Regions from separate parts of the Homo sapiens genome. Here region 1 is linked to region 2. The links are contacts of gene promoters, found by promoter capture Hi-C in blood cells and fetal thymus (Javierre and others, 2016). All regions are on one chromosome and are shown on one strand. The core of a region is centred on a gene start or on the middle of the fragment in contact, and the rest is flanking DNA. Distances in the headings are between cores, read along the strand shown.

What was found. The method cuts DNA at HindIII sites, captures the fragments that hold promoters and counts their contacts. A CHiCAGO score of 5 or more calls a contact.
Region 1: the fragment with the promoter of GBE1 here is called in contact with the fragment with the promoter of SELENOK in region 2 in 1 of 17 cell types (total CD4 T cells); the score reaches 6.6 in total CD4 T cells.

Annotation. Positions count from the first base shown.
Region 1 is chr3:81,760,256-81,762,955 of GRCh38, forward strand. It overlaps GBE1 (1,4-alpha-glucan branching enzyme 1), which reads right to left and starts at 1,390. Exons shown (of 16, transcript NM_000158.4): 1 at 1,120-1,390. The coding sequence starts at 1,262. RefSeq lists enhancers at 669-838, 1,179-1,468, 1,255-1,863 and silencers at 939-1,018, 1,519-1,618. The HindIII fragment of the contact is 5,689 bases long and covers 1-2,091 here.
Region 2 is chr3:53,890,444-53,893,143 of GRCh38, forward strand. SELENOK (selenoprotein K) reads right to left here and starts at 1,416. Exons shown (of 5, transcript NM_021237.5): 1 at 1,327-1,416. The coding sequence starts at 1,345. RefSeq lists enhancers at 604-1,504, 1,395-1,694. The HindIII fragment of the contact is 7,183 bases long and covers 716-2,700 here.

The DNA of each region.
Region 1 (2,700 bases), core at 140-2,639, about 28 Mb after region 2:
AGAGCAGTGTTTTATTTATAGGAGTTCCTCAATAAACACTTGCTGATTTGAATGCATTTAATACCTGAAAATGCTAGGACACAAACAATTTGCTGGGCTTTTTTCAAACTCCAAATCAACCCATTTTCATTACTCTCAACGCTCCTTCATGCCAGTTAACTAGTTGGATGTTTTCCATCACTCGAAAAATTGGCCATGTATATTCTGTTGCCAGGATAGTTTCCATTCTGCAGTGTCTCTCCTAAAAGGGGAGAAACTATTAAATCAAAATGGGGTAACCTCACAAGTATAACTATTACAACTTGTATAATAGCTCTTTTACTTCAAACAACAACGACAACAGAAAAAGACCTGTACCTTTTTAGTGGAACTTATGAATAGAATTATTAGCCCAGTAACTAAAGTTGTATGGTACACAATGGTAGAAGACAAGCTAAAACGACATTGGCCTGTAAAAGTTGCTTTCCTGACCTTTCTCCCTCTTCAAGATGGTTAAAGTCACACACGGACAAATGTTGATGTACATTTAACTTCTCAATGTTGATCCAAGGGGAGAAAAAATTGATCAATGTAGGTGTAATCTTCCCCTAAATGAGGAATATTAGCAAGGAAAAAACAAAAGGATATAGTGTCTGCCTGAAGGAATCCTCTTAGATATAAAATCACAACATTTGCTATGAAATAAACTAGAAAGTTTTAAATGCGTAATTACACGTGCCAGGAGTTATGCCCACGTTACTCCACAGGCCCACGCTAGTGGGTGCCAAAGTCAGAAAACCTGCAGCGGCGGTGAGTCACTCCCCAGCAGCACTCTGGGGAATAAGTGTTGGAGCCACAGCACGTACCCTATGGCGCAAGACCGCTGATTAGAACAGAGGGGAAAGGGGATGAGGAAAGAAGTTTCTTCAGCGCCCGCTCCGGGCACCAGCGCTGTCAAACCTGCCACTACGGAAGCCACAGAACCCGGTTACCCGAGTCACCCCGAGCCCCGCCCACTCAGGTTCCTCCCCGCCTGGGGCGGGGTTGGCGCGCGAGGGCCGAGGGGCGGCCCGTGTCCCGAGACGGCTCCTGGGAGGCGGGCTGCCTGTCTAAGTGGGGGTGGTGGGATTCCGGCGGTACCTGCGCTGGAAGTCCACGGCGTAGGGCTTCAAGTACGGGTCGATCTCCAGGAGTCTGGCCAGTTCGGGCACGTCAGCCAGGGCGGCATTGAGCGCCGCCTCGTAGTCCTCGGGCCGAGCCGCGGGAGTCATCGGAGCCGCCATATTCCGCCGCAGTCCAAGTAGCCGAGGCCCGAGAGGTCGAGTGGGGCCTGAGCGGGCGCTGGAGCTCTAGCTGGGACGCGGCGGCTAGGGCGGAGCCGGAGGGCGCCTAGGCGTGTCGAGGCAAGCCGAGGCGAGCCGCGGCGGTCCGGGGCCCTTTATAGCCGGGACGGAAGGCCTCCTGCCCTTTCTCCCCCCGCCAGCGGGGAGGAGCGGATCCCGGGGTGATGCCGGGACGCACGTCCGGAGCGGGTAGGAGGCACCGAGGCCTCTCCGCCCACTCACGCGGCTGGCACCTGGAGGCCGCAGGGACCTGCCCTTTCCTCCCCTTAACGGTTTTTTCCTGCTGGCGGAGGTCATTCTAGGAGGTGGGTCCCAAGCTGACCTCGCTCAGCCTTGGCCTTCCTCACCCTGACATATTCTTGGCTTTTCTTTACCCACTTAAGCACCCACTGACAGCGACCCCTTCAAATTGGACATAAGGGGTTTTTTTGGAAAGGACCGTATTTCTCAAAGTTCTGAGACTTTTGAGGGGCAGTATTTCAAACATATCATGTAAATTCACAGAGAGGGGAACAGTCAAGTGTAGCTAGAGTACTACTGCTGAAAATGTTAATACCTCTTACAACCAGGACTCTCCTAAGTTTGCCAGGTCACGTGAATTTAAAATTAACCAAGACACAGAATCCTGGAATACCGTTGGAATTCTGCTGTTCTGGTACTCTTTTCTGCATTACCAACAGCTAAGAATTTTAGCCATGGGAAGAACTTTTCTCATTCTCCGTAAGGCCAAAAAGGAAAAGGCATTTGCCTGTGTTTATAATTGTTAACAAGCTTTTCAACGATTAAACTACCTTTGATAACACAAATGATATCATTGAATTGGAACTCCACTCTGCCACTTACAGTGATAAGGCAAGAAACCTCTCTTCCTCTTGGCTTGGGAAGCTCCCACTTGGAATTCCCTTCTTTTATTGCCATTAACTGACTAGCTTCTATTTCAATAATTGCTTTTTAGGAATACAGAGTTGGACTCCAAGAGAGATGGACCCACCAAACCCAGGAGGGTCCAAGCTGCTTTACACCTAGAAACTAGAGAGGATTGAGGATATTTTTCTTGTTAAAACCCAGAACTGGAGGATCCTAGGGGTTATGGAGGAGAAACAGTATTAATCAGCCGTGGGCCTTGAATTTTAAAATATTTCAAAGGAAAGTTTTTATAAGGGGTTTCATAGACTTGAAAGATAAGTGGATATGAAGACAGACCTCAGTGTGAAAAAGTGAAGGACTTGAACGACTTTAAGACGTGCCTTGTTTTCCATAAAGATGACAAAAAACTGCTGCAGACATTTGTAAAATATAAAGCACTAAAAAAGGAAGAAAATTAAAAAAAAATAAAAACCCGAAGCAGGACAACTATTAATAACAGACCCACAGATCT
Region 2 (2,700 bases), core at 166-2,665:
CAATATCCCCAGAGAGAAGTAAGGTGTTTGAATGCAGTTGTGTTTCTCAACTTTTAAAGTACGATAAAGAGTCCTAATCGGCTACTTATGTGGACCAAATGAAATAATGCGAACACAGTAAGACACAACAAATACAAGGAATTATTCAATAATTCATACAGAAGCTTCCAGCCTTAAGCTTATATCACAAAGGCTATAAAACAGGCTATAAAACAGACTAAAGTCTGAAAGCGCCCAAAACTAAGATGAAATTTTGATGCTTTTCTGTAGTGTCCATCAATCTACTTGTTTCAAAGATTTTTAAGTGGGAGATGAGAAGGGGAGATTTTTAAAAGTCAAGAAATGCAAAAGTGCAGTCAGCCAGAAGGCTCCTCACTGACTACCTTACTCGTCTCTGGAGAAAAACAGATGACTCAAATAGAACCAAGACCTAGTTCCAATGATCCACAACTCCTTGTTAAGACTGTACCAAAGAATTTCACCTGAGTCAAACAGGTGGGCAGGCAGCTCTAGCACTGATCTGACACAGTCATGTCCTTCCTTTCCGGTCATCTTCTTTGTGGGTTCGCAGAATTAAGTCTCTCGGATTCTCCATTCCGGTAATAATTAACTTGCTCCTAGGGGAAGATAGTACTTCTTCCCATGCCCCTTGAAATTCGAGCAAAAAATTCCATGTTTGACTAGCTACCCTTTCCTGGGGAAAAAGCCTATGCAAAGCTTTCATCTAATTATCATCCTAGGTCGGCTCGGTCTTTTTACACGTTGTAGACAGAGGCAGCATAACAGATAACAAGGACGCTGACGTCAGCCTACCTGTGATCGAATCCCGACTCAGCCATTAAGTTACCTCTGTGACTTAAATAGCCCAGGCAAGCTATTTAATCTATCTGAGCCTCAGAGTTTCCACCCGTAAAACAGGATTGAATGTGACGATAAGCAAATAACTGAAACACTGTCCAGGGCACAAGCGCTACGTGTACAGCGTCGGCATCATTGTCCTTACTAGTTTTAAGGATACCGACACCCGAGAGAGGAAAGACCACCCTCGCAAATCCACAATCAAGCGCTTGCTGCACGAAGGCGGGGTTGCAGGGCTCCCAGTACTCAACGTGAGGCCGGCGGGACCTCGGCCCCCGACTGCCGGCTCAGAGACCATCGGCTGACGCGCCGCAAGCCGAGGCGACTTCGGTCCAGCTCCGCCCGGCCGCGGGGCGCTAAGCCCGGGGAAGCCGCACCGGGCTCAAGACTCAGCGAGCGACGATGAAAGGAACCTGGAGTCCGATCTTACAAGTCACCGGTCGAAGCCACAGCCCGCTCTCAACTTACCGTTCGAGATGTAAACCATCTTGTCCCACTTCCCCGCTTCGGAGCCACCGGGCGCCTGGCCCCTGTCGGTTTCTGTATCTCCCTCTGCTCCCCGCCCTTCGAGCGTCACAGGCCGCGATTAGACAAAATGCTGACGAGGACGAAGGTGGGCAGAGCCCATTGGCTGCTGAAAGAGACGCGCCCCCGACGGGCGTTTTTGCATCGTCACATCTGCGACTTCTGGTTAGGCGGAGGCGGCCGAGCTGACAACCGGATATGACGTTAAGGACTGCCCTGTAGTGCCCGCGGTTGCCAGTCCTCTATCCGACTTGATCGTGCAGAGTTGGTTCGCACCGCCCAGTGAGGGGAAGCTGTTTTCTCGTCGATTGATAGGCTCCGGGTCTGGGTAGGAGAGGCTGCCCTGTATGAGGTAGCTTGAAGGGCCGCTGACAGGAGGAAACGCTTCCGAATTTTCCAGACGTGTTGACGTTTGAGGGTGCTGACTACACGTTAAGGAACTTTATTGTCACGCCTTTGGGAATATACTGCCAGGCTCTTCCTAGATATATTCATTCTCTTTAAAATGAGCATGTCTACCTGGGTTCACCAGAAACTAAGTTTTTCTTAGCCTTTTGTGAGGCAACTGAAAAATAAATTGAACTGTAGGCCCTTTCTCTGCTTGTTTCTTATTGATGGCGACTGCTTATGACCACTTTGGTGACAGACGAATTAGAAGACATGTCTTGGACATTCAGTAAATGTGGACCACATACCATGGATATTTACTCTGCTACAGCCAGTGGGCTGCCTCTGTTCCTTGAACGTGGCCATTTCATTCCCTTCTCAAGGCCTCTGCACTTAGCTATTCTTTCAGCGTGGAGACCTAATGGCTGCTTCCTTTGACTTCCCGCCCCCAGTTCTCAAGCCATGTGTCATCTCTTTGGAAAGATTCCTAATCACCTTCCAGAAAATGAAAATTACATGCTGAAAATCTATTTTGAGTTTAACAACTTTGGTTAAGATTTTATGTTCTAATACTTAGAACTGACAAAGATCTAATTTTATGTTGATTTTGGAGAGAGCATTTTCCCCAGAAAAGTTCATAATAGGACAAGACAACATCCTTCACCTCATTTGGGATTTGTGCAGCACAATCATAAAGGATCATTTCTGCAAAAATATTAGGGCAGGGCCGTTAATTTTCCCAAGGGCCTTTCTTAATCTAGACCATGCCACCATCATCTCTCACCTGCTCTACGCTAGTTTCCTTCTAAATGAAATCTCAGGTTCAGTCTTTTACCATCCTTAGGCAGTTTTACAAACTGTAGCAAGATCGATCTTAAAACGGAGATCATCTCGTTCCCTTGCCTAAAACCTTTTGGACACTAAAATTTA